Linked DNA regions of Homo sapiens: all the other regions are linked to region 2. Evidence: promoter capture Hi-C in human tissues and cell types (Jung and others, 2019). All regions are on one chromosome and are shown on one strand. The core of a region is centred on a gene start or on the middle of the fragment in contact, and the rest is flanking DNA. Distances in the headings are between cores, read along the strand shown. Region 1 overlaps LOC100505715 (a long non-coding RNA gene). Region 2 holds the start of ZNF285 (zinc finger protein 285). Region 3 overlaps ZNF223 (zinc finger protein 223). Region 4 overlaps ZNF221 (zinc finger protein 221). Region 5 holds the start of ZNF45 (zinc finger protein 45).

What was found. The method cuts DNA at HindIII sites, captures the fragments that hold promoters and counts their contacts. A contact is called where the count stands out against the background at its distance.
Region 1: a fragment that was not itself captured here is called in contact with the fragment with the promoter of ZNF285 in region 2 in 4 of the 25 tissues and cell types used here (bladder, dorsolateral prefrontal cortex, pancreas and 1 more).
Region 3: a fragment that was not itself captured here is called in contact with the fragment with the promoter of ZNF285 in region 2 in 2 of the 25 tissues and cell types used here (dorsolateral prefrontal cortex and spleen).
Region 4: a fragment that was not itself captured here is called in contact with the fragment with the promoter of ZNF285 in region 2 in 5 of the 25 tissues and cell types used here (dorsolateral prefrontal cortex, heart left ventricle, hippocampus and 2 more).
Region 5: the fragment with the promoter of ZNF45 here is called in contact with the fragment with the promoter of ZNF285 in region 2 in 2 of the 25 tissues and cell types used here (dorsolateral prefrontal cortex and mesendoderm cells).

What each region holds. Positions count from the first base shown.
Region 1 is chr19:43,891,042-43,893,741 of GRCh38, reverse strand. LOC100505715 (a long non-coding RNA gene) reads left to right here. Exons shown (of 3, transcript NR_038334.1): 3 at 602-1,938. Among named protein-coding and RNA genes, the nearest start is that of ZNF404, 8.4 kb to the right of the region's middle. The HindIII fragment of the contact is 7,085 bases long and covers 1-2,700 here.
Region 2 is chr19:44,400,192-44,402,891 of GRCh38, reverse strand. It overlaps ZNF285 (zinc finger protein 285), which reads left to right and starts at 1,284. Exons shown (of 4, transcript NM_152354.6): 1 at 1,284-1,324. RefSeq lists an enhancer at 1,131-1,887. The HindIII fragment of the contact is 9,713 bases long and covers 1-2,700 here.
Region 3 is chr19:44,064,330-44,067,029 of GRCh38, reverse strand. It overlaps ZNF223 (zinc finger protein 223), which reads right to left. Exons shown (of 5, transcript NM_013361.6): 5 at 1-966. Among named protein-coding and RNA genes, the nearest start is that of ZNF284, 6.5 kb to the left of the region's middle. The HindIII fragment of the contact is 6,488 bases long and covers 1-2,700 here.
Region 4 is chr19:43,960,074-43,962,773 of GRCh38, reverse strand. It overlaps ZNF221 (zinc finger protein 221), which reads right to left. Exons shown (of 5, transcript NM_001297588.2): 2 at 1-49. The coding sequence starts at 47. Among named protein-coding and RNA genes, the nearest start is that of ZNF221, 10 kb to the right of the region's middle. The HindIII fragment of the contact is 7,430 bases long and covers 1-2,700 here.
Region 5 is chr19:43,933,900-43,936,599 of GRCh38, reverse strand. It overlaps ZNF45 (zinc finger protein 45), which reads left to right and starts at 1,318. Exons shown (of 10, transcript NM_003425.4): 1 at 1,318-1,676; 2 at 1,906-2,174. It overlaps ZNF45-AS1 (ZNF45 antisense RNA 1), which reads right to left. Exons shown (of 3, transcript NR_184050.1): 3 at 786-2,700. The HindIII fragment of the contact is 9,817 bases long and covers 1-2,700 here.

The DNA.
Region 1 (2,700 bases), core at 80-2,579, 510 kb after region 2:
CCGTCTCTACTAAAAATACAAAAATAATTAGCCGGGCACGGTGGCAGGCGCCTGTAGTCCCAGCTACTCGGGAGGCTGAGGCAGGAGAATGGCGTGAACCCGGGAGGCGGAGCTTGCAGTGAGCTGAGATCGCGCCACTGCACTCCAGCCTGGGTGACAGAGCAAGACTCCGTCTCAAAAAAAAAAAAGAAAAGAAAAGAAAATAGATAAGTGTTGGTGAGGATGTAGAGGAAAGGGAACACTTGTACACTGTTGATGGCAATATCAATTGGTATAGCCATTATGTAAAACAGTATGAAGGTTCCTTAAAATAATAAAAATAAACCTATCATATGAAAAAAAAAAGTGACGAGATGTCTCTACTGTGATTATGTTATACCATATAAGACTCATAGCAGATTGGACTTCTTTTGTGGGCTTGATGAAGTAAGTGGCAATGTTGGAGAAGCCCATCTTGCAAAGGAACTGCAGGTGGCCTGCAGAACCTGAGGGCAACCTCCAGCCAACAGTCAGCAAAAAGGTGAGGCCCTCAGTCGTATGGCCACAGGGAAATGAATTCTCCCTACAATCTGAATGAACCTGGAAATGAATTCTCCCCCAGTTGAACTCCAGAGGAGAACACAGCCCAGGTAACCCCTCGTTTGCAGCCTGTGAGACCAGCCTGAGGACAGCACCCAGCTAAACTCCAGGTCCATGGAAACTGTGAGATTTTATATATTTATGTTGTTTTAAGCTAAATTCGTGGTAATTGGTTATGGTAGCAACTGAAAATTAATGCAGTAAGAAAGTCTAAGGAGATCGGAAGAGACTAAAGAGAAATAACAGCTAAATGCAACGTAGATTAATGTGTGGGATCCTGGAAAAGAAAAAGGACATTAATGGGAAAACATATTTGAATAAGATGTGCAAATTTTTCGTATTGTACCAATGTTAATTTCCTGGTTTTGATAATTATCCTTTGGTTATGTAAGATAAACGCTAGAATGAAGGGTATATGAGAACCCTCTGTACTACTCTTGCAACTTTTCTCTAAGTCTAAAATAAGTGGAAATTAAAAGTTAAAACAAAAAAAAAGGAAAATTTTATCTATCCCAAGACCACAAAGTTATTTTTCTGTTTCTTCCTCCAGAATCTTTATTGTTTGTTTTCACACTTAGACCTATGATCCATCTTGAATTTATATCTGTGTATGTAGTGGGATGAAGTTCAAAATCATTTTTTTCATACAGATATCCAAGTGCACTGGCACCGTTTGTTAAAAACACTGGCCTTCTCTTAAGCTGCAGTCAGACTTTTACTGTAAAGCATGGGCCCATATATGTGCAGGAGTCTTTCTACTTTTCCGTTGGTCCTCTTTGTCAATCTTTGTGCCAGCACCTCCATTTTAATTCCTGTAGCTTTATATTATATCTTGATAATCTGGTAATATAAGTTGAAGAACAACTTTGTTCTTCAAAATCACTTTGTCTATTCCAGGTTCTTTGCATTGCTCTATAATTTTAGAATGAGTTAATTAATTTTCTCAAAACAAACAAAACGCCCTGCTGACATTTTGTTGGCAGTACATTGAATCAGTAGATAAATTTAGAGAGAATTATCTCAAAATTGAGTCTTACAGTTCATGAACATGGAATACATTTCCATTTATTGAATTCATCTTTAATTTCTTTCCTTAAGGTTTTGTTGTTTCCTGTCTAAAGGTCTTGCACATCTGTTAAATTTATTCCTGTTTTACATTTTTTATGTTTTTACAAACTGTTAAGGTTTTAAAAATTTTATTTTTCAGTAGCTTTGCTTTAATATAATTGTTTTATACTTTTACCCTTTATTCAGCAATAAATTATTTAATTTAAAGCTTGTGGAATTAAAAAATATTTTTATGTACATAATCATGTAATCTACACTATCTGCAAATAAAGATCATTTTACTTCCTTCCATTTACACCTTTTATTTTTTCCTTATAATATTGGATAGGTCTTCTACTACAAAATTGAAAAGACATGTAAGAGTAGACAACCTTACCTTGTTCCTGAAATCAGAAAGACAGTGGTCCATATTATGTATAATGATCCCTTTATGTACAATGGTAGTTGTAGTTTTTATTCTTTAGGTCCCCTTTATCAGATGAAAGAAGTTCCCCTCTAGTCCTGGTTTGCTGAGAATTTTTATCATGATTAATGTTGTATATTGTTAAATGGATTATTTCTAATGAAATAATTGAATGGTTTTCTCCTTTATTAGTTAACATTGAAAGATTACATTGATTTTTTAAAAATTAAACTTATACTTGTTTGAGGTTATGGTAAAAAATTAAATTAAATGGCCTTTGAATTTCTAAAATAAAGCTCTCTTGGTCAATATGTTACTGGTTTCTCTTTGCTAATATTTGGTTTAATATGCTTGCGTCTGTGTTCATGAAACAGATATATTGTAATTTTCCTTTTATGTAATATCCTCATCTGGTTTTGATATCACAGTTATTCTGGCCTTATGACATAGTTTGTTTTTTTCTATTTTCTAGAACAAGTTGAGTTTGATTGGCATTTTTAATTTCTTAAATGTTTGGGAGAATTTGCTACTGAATCCTCTTGGCCTGACATTATTTTTGTGAGAAGATCCTTAATACAGATTTAATTTCTTTAATAAATAAAACAATATTTAGATTTTCAATTTCTTATATCAGTTCAAATTGTGTTTTC
Region 2 (2,700 bases), core at 35-2,534:
ATCTAAGTAAGCACAAATAAGCATGTAGGAAATTTAAATAGCACAGTTAGCAAGTCTGGGGAAAATATAAATGTATGCATATCCATCTGATAGAGAAGACACATTGTTTTCCAACAGACACAGATGTCACAAAAATTAACCTTGTATTAGGTCAAAAATAAAAATGTTCCTGAACTCGTTTTTTAAAATTCAAGTATGTCAAATTAAATCAAGTAATCCTTCAACTTAGAGCAATATATAAGAACATCAAACATGTAAACATCAAAAGACAGAGATAAGCCAAAACAATTGCACTGTCCCTTTATGTGCCCTAAGCTGCGATGTCAAGCTATAGTTGGATATTATTCAACCATTTCCTGCCCATTGCGTAGAGGTGGGGGTCTTCACTTCTCTATCTAGTCTAGGACTGGAACCGCCTCACCACCCCTACAGCTTGAGGGTGCGTGGAAAAGGGAATGCCAGCCAGATATTCCAAACAGAGACTCTGCCAGCAGGACCAGGTGACCTTTCCTAGGAGACAGATTGTTCTCACACGTTATCAGGGCTTTCCTCCAGGCTAAAACTGTGGGCCTCTAATGGAATTCCTATTCAATTTTCTTACCCCATTTAGGGTACCCAAATTTTTCTTTAATAGAAATCTTAAATCTTAAATGCAATAACATGAAGTAAAATAAAGCCTAAGTCTCAACAAGGGCAAATTTTCAAAAAGAATCTGAAAACTTCCCGCGTTTTCTTGTTATGTTGTAATGTGTCTCTTTTAGGACACTCTCAGTACTCCTGCAATTCCCCTGTTAAGGATTCAGACAATAGTTGTTAATTCCTTCTGCTTCTTCTGAGACTAGGAAATAAATTACAGGGCTATGTTATATCGCAAGTGTAGATTATCCAGAGTTTTCATCAACAGAAATAAAACATGGTGGGGGGCGGGGAGGGAATTATTTAAGTGAGTGTTAATTGAAAAGTTTCGTGGTTTTAACGTTAAAAGACATGCCTATAAAATAAGAACTTATAAAAGTCTTCACTAAAACGGTAAAGTGCCCATTTCCAAGTAGTAAAATATTGAAACTTCTTTTCATCGTTGATAGTGATTTATTTAACATTTCATTATTTTATCGTTATTATGATTGTCGTTATTTTAGACGAATGCACGGAAGTCAAAGGACTTCCAAATGCACGGAAGTCAAAGGCCACCTTCACCAGGGTAGCCTTGCGAATGGCCACTGCTGCGCGCGGGGCTTTCTGGGGATTGTAGGCCATAGGCCTCCTTGCGCATGCGCCATGGTACTGGACGCACGCTGCGGGCGACATTGTTTGGGACGCTGGGGTGAGTCCCGTCTGTACCGCGCCCCTCTTGGAGGCGTAGCCAGGAGTAGGAGTGTAGGATGTGCAGCTGTGACCCGTCCCTGTGGACTGAAGTAGGAGGAGTGGAAGAGGGGACTGGTAACCAATGATAAGGCCTCGTAGGTGGGGTAGACTAGGGAAGTTCAGCGGCCCGACCTACCCGGGATAGGATGGGAAGAGCGTGGGCTCGAGCGTGGGCTCGGTTTGGGGAGCAGCCCTGGGTTTGACAAAACAGTGCATCTTCACGTTTCGTGACAGCGACTTGCGCTGTGCCTCCTCGGGTCGAAGCTTAGGGTCAGTCTTGGGATGTGCATCTCTGGATGAGGGCAGAGGGGCGCTGGCTCAGGGTTTTGGAGTAATGGCTGGACTGTGCGTCCCTGAATGGGATGAGGGATTTGCTTAAGCAGCTAGTCTCTGGATATAGAGGATGGCTTCGGCTGTTCTCGCTCAGTTTGGTGGGGGCGATTCTGGCTCAGCACCCCTAGGTTCTTGGATGGGGAGTTGTCTTGGGTCTGAACTCTGGATTTTGGCAGCTCTGACTCCATTGGGGCATTTATGACTTCAAGGCAGAGGTTCTGGCTTTTGGCAATAAAGAAACAACTCAGACTGTAATACTGTAATAACTCCAGAGTTTAATGTCACCGAATACATTTTGAAAAGAACTGTCCCAGGCCTGGCGCGGTGCCTCACGCCTGTAATCCCAGCACTTTGGGAGGCCAAAGTGGGCGGATCACGAGGTCAGGAGATCGAGACCATCCTGGCTAACACGGTGAAACCCCGTCTCTACTACAAAAAACAATTACAAAAAATTAGCCGGGCACGGTGGCAGGCGCCTGTAGTCCCAGCTACTCGGGAGGCTGAGGCAGGAGAATGGCGTGAACCCGGGAGGCGGAGCTTGCAGTGAGCTGAGATCACGCCACTGCACTCCAGCCTGGGCGACAGAGCCAGACTCTGTCTCAAAGAAAAAAGAAAAGAAAAGAACTGCCCCAAATTATTAACTCCATTCTCACCTCACATGCTGTGAGCCAGGGAGTAGGGACTTTGAGTATTATAAAGCACATTAGCAAATATAAGTTGTTAAATTACACTCAACAAATTTGAAGTTTGAACACTCTCTGTATATTTGATAAAGTTAGAGATTTAGTGTTAATTATTTTAGGTGTAATAGCAGCATTTATTACATTTCTGATCGTGTTTCTGGGCAATTGCAGTTCCAGATTCAGCTGCACTTTTCCTCTAGGTCTTCATTCCCTGAAGAAGTTGATATGGGCATCTGGTCTCATTCCTGATGCATTCCTCAGATCAGAGTAGTTGTCAGGGTGAGGGATGAGAAAGGCATTTGTGTGCGAGAGCTGTGTG
Region 3 (2,700 bases), core at 129-2,628, 340 kb after region 2:
TATAAGGTCTCTCTCCTGTGTGGGCTCTATGGTGCAAGTCAAGACCTGACTTAGTAATGTAGCTCTTCCCACACTTGTCACATTTGTATGGCTTTTCTCCAGTGTGGACTCGCTGATGGATCAAAAGATAGGAGGACCGTCTGAAGCTCTTCCCACATTCTTTACAATTATATGGTTTCTCTCCTGTGTGGATCGTCTGATGCTTACACAAATCCAGCCTACGAATGAAGCCTTTTCCATATTCCCCAGTGCTGTTTGGTTTCTTTCCTGTGTGGACCACACAATGCCTATTAAGACTTGACCTAAGACGGAAGCTCACACTACATATCTCACATTTGAATGGCTTCTCCCCTGTGTGAATTCTCTGATGTTTCTGAAGCTGGAAATCATGAATGAAGGCCCTCCCACATGCCTCACAATTATAATGTTTCTCTCCCATGTGTAATTTGCAATGAACTGTAAGTGCTGATCTACATCTGAAGCCTCTCCCACATTGTTCACATTTGAAAGGTTTCTCTCCAGTATGGACTCTCTGATGAGTTTGCAGATGTAAACTCTGACTGAATTCCTTACCACACACGTCACACTTAAAGAGTTTCTCTCCCAGGTGGACTCTCTGATGAATATGAAGCGCTGAGATGTAACAGAAGCTTTTTCCACACTCATCACAGGAATGAGACTTCTCTGCTGAGCGTATTTGCTGAGGAAGATCAAAGATGGACATATCACTGAAGGATTGTTTACACTTCCCACAATTGGAAGGTTTCTGTCCTGTGTGCATTATAGATAGTCCTTCCTCAACCTGGGAGTGGGCATCACCCTGTTCAAAGAACTGAGAGCTCTTTATGGTAGAGTCTTGAGGCCTGGTTAAATCACTTGCAATTTCTTCCCAGATCTGCTGGCAGGACCACCCTTCATGTGGTCCTGCTTCTGGAAAAGTCTTCATCTCAGGTTGGATCTTGCCTCCTATCAGAATACAAAATTAAGAGATCAGGACAAGCTATGCCCTGTTCAGTGTTTTTAAGAGTTCACACTTAGGACATGGTATGAAACTTCAACGAATGTTCAGTTTGTGTTTTCCAAGTGCACCCTGGTTTCTGGTTTGCATGAGAGTAATCTAAAACCATACCATGTCACTGGGGACGGTGGCTCACACCCATAATCCCAGCACTTTGGGAGACCAAGGCACTTTGGGAAGCTGAGGCAGGCAGATCACTTGAGGTCAGGAATTCGGGACCAGCCTGACCAACATAGTGAAACCCCGTCTCTATTAAAAATACAAAAATCAGCTAGGTGTGGTGGCACACACCTATAATCCCAGATACTTGGGAGGCTGAGGCAGGAGAATTGCTTGAACCCAGGAGGCGCAGGTTGCAGCAAGCCGAGATCGTGCCACTGCACTCCAGCCTGGGCGACACAGTGAGACTCTGCCTCAAAAAAAAAAAAAAAAAAGAAAAGAAAGAAAAAAACATACCACATTTCAAATAAAAAATCATTGATAGAAATAAAAGGTTTAATAAAAAATTAATATGACACATACATTTAACCTGTTACTGTTTTTAAAATTTCCAACTCAGTCTGAAATTTTACATGATAAATTACTAAACTATTATGTACGTAATGAAATATGAATCAAAAGGAACTCTAAGGGAAAGCAGTAACATAATAAATACTTCGTATATTTGCCTGTATATTATATATCCTTATAAAGAAGTTAACCTTCCTTTCAGTTTAAGATGGCTTAAAAAACATTTTTAAAAATAAGAAAAGGAGTTAACCTAACTAAAAAGAGGTCAGGACTTTGTCCTCAGTATCTGAGAGGTAATCTGTAGAATCTTGAAGGGGCATGCCTGAGGAGAGTCTCTCTGTTTGCTTGGGGGCAAATCTTGGGTAACTCTTGACAGTGAAATAATATAATTTAGGGTTGTGACTAGCCACAGCTTTGGGGGATGGGAAATGGCAGGTGGCATTCCCCATGTCAGAAAAAATAACGATGTGATTTAATGTAGGTCTTTAGGTCACAGGGAACCAGTGGACCAAAAGACTAAATAACCACACAGGAATCAACCAACCAATTATGGCTATGTAATGGAGCCCCAATAATTACTTGGATCCCAGCACTCAGTTGAGTTTCCCTGATTGGTGGTTCCTTGTGTCTAAGTCACATGCTAATTTTGGGTATGTAACATGCCCGACTCTACTGTGAGAATACAATAGGAGATCCACATTTGGTACTTCACTGGACTCTGTCTTATTTGGTTTTTCCCCCTTGGTTAACTATAATATGCATCTTTTGCTTGTAAAAATCAGTAACTGTGAGAATAAATACATCCAGTGAGTTCTGAGGGTCTTTCTAGGAAATTATTGAATGTGAAGGTAGTTTTGAAAAACTGCCGAATTTGCACTTGGAGTGAAGTGAGAGCAGTTCTCTGTAAAATGTCCCATTAAACTTTTTAGTTTAACCCTTCATGATACTAAACATCAAACACCTTAGAATGTTTATATCTACAAATCGAAAGTATTCCTATACAAGAATTTTGCATGACACATATAAAATACTTAATCTTATTTTTCTGTTTTGATATGGATGATAAGTTGGTTATCTGAAAGAGTACAGAGACAGACAACTGCAGTTCTGAGGGGAATCTGAAAGGCTGTCCTTCCAGAGGTCCACAAAGGAGGATGCTCTTCATCAGACAA
Region 4 (2,700 bases), core at 1-2,500, 440 kb after region 2:
AATTTGCAGAGTCCTGAATGAAGCAGTTCAAGTGAAGGTGAAATCATGCCTGGAAAGTGCCAGGAAAGGCAGAAAAACAGACAGGAAATGGTAACTAGGAATGCCGACCACCAACATAGACAAGTATTTTCAATTAGCACATGAATGTTCATAGCAGCATTACTCATAACCCCAAACTGCAAACAAGCAAAATGCCCTCCTACGGGTAAATGAATAGACAAATCATGGCATATCCATACAACAGAATTTTATTTGGAAATTCAAAGGAGTGAAGAACTGGCTCATGCTACAACATGTATGAACCTTGGAAACATTATGCTAAGTTAAAGAAGCCAGTCTAAAAACCCCATGGATTGTAAAATTCAATTTTATAAAATATCCAGAATAAGCAAATGTATATATAGAGAAAGTAGGTTAGTGGTTGCTCCAGATTTGAGGTGAGAATGAGGTTTAACTGTACATAAGCACAAGGAGTCCAATTGGGGGGCGAAAATGATCTAAACTGAATTATGATGACGGTCACACCACTGTTCAAAGTTCCTGAAGATTATTAAATCGTACGACTGAAATGGGTAAATTCTATGACATGTAAAATACACCTCAATAAAGTTGGAAATAATAACAGTTAATCTACATGTTATTTAACTGGATTGTGGGTCCATATTGATAGAATATTTATAGTTGAAGAAACTGATTAATAAATCAGGGAGAAGTGGAAGCTAATCTTTACAGGATAATGCCCACTAATAATGTATCTCCCGTAAGAAACGTTTTTATTTTCAAAATTTAATTAAAAAGTAACCTTTCAGTGGAAAAATCTGAAAGATATCATCTTGGCCAAGTGAACAAAGTTGAGATCTCCAATGAAGGGAAAAACAGACATCATTTGGCCCCTGTTATGACACTTCAACACTTCTGTGGTATCCACACCAACAATGCATAATCTGAACCTAAACATGAAATACATAAATCCCAAATGACTATCTTTCTATAAAATACTTTGCCTATATACTTCAAGGATGTCAAGAATAAAAAGACAAAGCCTGTTGAATCTTTCTAGATTAAAGAAGACTACAGAAATGTGACACCTAAAAGCAGTACATAAAATTGGACTTTGGACTGGGGGATGGGGGAAAACAGTTACAAGAACTTTAAAAAGCACAACAAATTTAAATATGGGAGTTTGGATAGAAAAGATGATGGTGTCTAGCCATATCTAATAGGTAACAGAATTAACTAATATTAATAGTCTTTTAATTGATATCTAGTATTTAATAGTGATATTACTTAATATTATATCTAATACTACCTAGCATCTTATATGAAACTCTATAGCCAGCCCTTCCTAAATGCCTCTTACCAAGACACTCCATGATCACCTTGCTATGTGGGGTTCCTTGATGCAGAAAGCTACAATAAGTTGTTTCTCATTATAAGTTTGTTCCCAGTGGTATTTGGCTGATGGGTGTTAACAAAGCAAAATACAAAATGTAAATAATTGGAAAATTTGGGTAAAGAGCATATGAAGAGGCAGGTGCTGTGGCTTGAGCCTGTAATCCCAGCTACTTGGGAGGCTGAGGCAGGAGGATAGCTTGAGTCTAGGAGTTAAAGGCTGCAGCAAGTTAGGATTGTGCTACTGTACTCCAGCCAGGGCTCTTAAAGCTCCAACATAATCCTTGACTCCATGTCCCACATCCTGGTATAAGAGATAGACTCCCAAGGCCTTGGGCAGCCAAGTGATATGACTGAGCAGTGGTCTCAGGACCACTTCTCAGAGGGCAGTGGTCCCCTTACCACAGATCCATTAGGTAGTGCCCTAGTGGGGACTCTGTGGGGAGCCCTCACATTTCTCCTTGGCACTGCCCTGGTAGAGGTTCTCTGTTGGGGCTCCCCCACTGTGGCAGGCTTCTGACTGGGATCCCAGGCTTTCTCATACATCCTTTGAAATCTAGGTAGAAGCTGCCAAGCCTCCTTCATGCTTGCATTCTGAGCATCTGCAGCCTTAACACAATGTGGAAACTACCACAACTATCAAGGCTTGAACCCTCTGGAGCTGCAACCCAGCCTGCGCCTGGGGCACTCTAAGCTGAGGCTGGAGCCAGAGTGGCCGGATTCAGGGCACAATGTCTTGAGGCTGCTCAGGGCAGGGGGTCCCTGGGCCTGGCCCTTGGAACCATTCTTTTCTCCTAGGCCCCTAGGCCTGTGATGGGAGGGACTTTCCTGAAGACTTCTGAAATGTCTTCCAGGTCTTTTTCCCATTGTCTCAGATATTACCACTTGGCTTTCTGTTAGTCATGCAAATCTCTTTTGCGAGTGGTTGCTCCACAGCCGACATGTATTCCTCTCCTAAAAATGCTTTTTCTTTCTCTACTAAATGGCCAGGCTGCAAATTTTCCAAACTTTTATACTCTGCTTACCTTTTAAATATAAATTCCAACTTTAAGTCATTTTTTTGCTCCCATATATAATTGTAGGCTGTTTGAAGCAGTGAGGCAGCCAGGCCACTTCTTGAATGCTTTGCTGCTCAGAAATTTCTTTTGCCAGGTACCCTAAGTTATCACTCTTAAGTTCAAGCTTCCAGAAATCCCTAGGGCATGAACACAAAGCAGCAAAGTTCTTTGCTAGGACATAACATGGGTGACCTTTACTCCAGTTCCCAATAACTTCCTCATTTCCATCTGAGATCTCATCAGCCTGGAC
Region 5 (2,700 bases), core at 69-2,568, 470 kb after region 2:
TCCTTGCAGACCAAGACTAGCCCACAGGCAGTGTGCCCAGAGTAGCAGCATATGGGCTGTTGGCTGGGTATATTTATACCAACTTTTCATTACATGCAAATTAAGGGGTGAGTTACTCGGAAATCTCTAGAAAAGGGGTTGGTAACTTCCAGGTGTTGCCATGGCATTTATAAACCGTCACGGCGCTGGTGGGAGTGTCTTATACTGATAGGTAGCAAAGGGAACTTACAGGTTGCTTTCCATCACTTGCTGGTTTCAGCAGGTTTCTTATCTGATCTTGGAATCACGCCCTGCTGGTCTCCTGCCTCAGCCTAAATTGAACATTGTTCAGATGTTTACAGCTACTCCTATGTAGTCAACTTCCATTTTTTCTTCTTTACCCTTTCATAATAAACTTGGAAAAATATTTAGTTTCTACCTAGGAGAAAAGTGAATAGTATAGCTTTCTGTATTTTTTGCACTTCATGTCTTAATCCCTCACTTCACCTCCCTCTCCTTACTGAATATTCATAGACACTTTGGCAAATCATAAGACACCTTTACAGATTCCTGATTCTGAGAGCAAGAAGTGATGTGATTCCTTAATCTGAACTGAATGTTTTCAAGATTTTATATAGGATAGAGCCTATTCAATACTATAATACTTTCTTCAGTATCCTGCGAATGAAAGAAAACTAAGCGCAAGAAAAGTGGAGAATTTTGCTGCTTTTGTTTCATGTCCTGCTGGATGATTGCATCTCCTTTTTTGAGCATTTTTAATCACAGATGAATCCATACCCATATTATAAAAGGCTTGTTGCTCTGGGCGGCTCTGGCCACCTCTTTTATTACCTCTGTTTTTAGCTCACACATAGCATTCCTTTGTATTTTCCTTTTTTTTTTTCATATTCGCAACTTCTGTCACGTATAAAAGGGAACAATGGCAAAAGGAAAAAGCAGGCTGAGCTCTACAAGCAATGACTTAGACTCCCCCCGCTAATTCAAAAGGAAAATTGCAGGCTGGCGGGAAGCTCAGCCCTACAGAGGATTCTGGGACGTGTGGTCCAGACTTTTGGGGGCACTTCAGCTCTGGGAAAGCGCGGCTTTGTTATTTGCTCCCCTGGGGAAATAGGAACCTATACCCCAGTGCTCAGTGGGTTCGGTGGTACTTCGACTATTTGAGGACGAGAACACGAAGCCCGCTCCCCTTGGGGATTCTGAGAAATAAGATTCGGCCGTGGGAGTCGAAGCCCGCACTTCCGCCCAGGGGGCGGGGCAGCGGCTTCCGTTCCTCCCGGGGATGCTGGGAAATGTAGTTCCAGAGCTCCCTGCTCTCCCGGGCACTTCCGCGGCAAGAGGTTGAGAGCGCGGCCTTCATTCCTCTCGTGGAAGTGAGTGAGTCCTGGGACCCCGCGACCTGTTTTAACTTTTATGGTTTGGTCGTAGGATCAGCAGGGCTCGCACTTCGGTCAGCAGGAAAAGACGCTGCGGCGAGCAGCGGAGGGCGGAGTTGAATGGCTGGGCAGCTGATTGCCTTACTGTATCCGGAGCTGCTGCGTTCGGGGCGGTTCGGGAGTCCCCTGGTTGGAAGTGGACCTGAATGGGGAGGCGTCTGAGGATCTCCTGGGCTCTCAGCGGCCCGACCCGCCTTCCCCCACCTCCCACAGCTCTGTAGCTTCCTAGCGGTGTAACGTTGGGTGAGAACTTAATCTTTCGGTGCTTAGTTTCTGGTCTTAGTTTCCTCTTCTGCAAAAGGAAATATTAACCTTATATATTTGTTTTGACAATTAGTAATATAGTACAAGTAAAATGTGTATGGAATAGTACAGGAATGTGGCAACATGTCGGCCGTTAATATTAAAACTATCATAATAAAAAATATTCATTTTTCAGCAAGCGCCTGGCTCTTCTTTCTGATTCCTGCAGGAAAGGAGGCTGTTCTTGGACTATGCCTGACCCGTTTTTTAAGAAAGAGTGCATCACTCAACAGGTGGCGTCTGGAGTTATCCTCTGTGGATTTTCCAGGATCTCAGACAAGATCGTGCAATCTCCCAGCCTCCTTTCCTTCCCCTGCCCTGACTTCTGAAAGAATGCTGCGGGAGAGGAGGAAGGAGAGCATCCTGGCTTCTGGCAGCAGAGCCCCACTGTGACAGGACCTAGCATTCACCTTCCTCTTCTGTTCCGAGTGCGAGAAGGTATTTCATTCCTTGCAAATGTTTCTGCTACAGAAGTGTTCCGTTATTGTATAATTGGAGAAAATGTGACATGAATATTAGTCACACTAGTTAAACATTGGGTGCTGAGTATCACTCTGAGGGCTTTATAAAAACTAACACACTGAACCTTCACAAAGGCCTTGTGTTGTGGGTTCTGTTCACCTTACAAAGGTGATGTGGGTATTGTGATATGGGTACTGTTATTACACCAATTATACAGATGAGGAAATGGAGAGAGCCTAATTTACTTTCCTATATCACAGTGCTAGTAAGAACAGTGGGATTTGTGTCCTAGACTTGGGTTCCTTACATCTGAATACCCTTGGTCTCACAGTTTGAAATCCCAATTTAGAATTAGGAAATAAAATAGATAAATGATCCATATAAATAATCATAGGAAACTGGCTGCAGAGGAGCCATTTGAGATCAAGTTGGGGAGGGAGGTTGGAATTTTACTGTAGAAGATTTTGAAAGCAAGGTTGAGTTTAGACTTTAGAAAATTTTG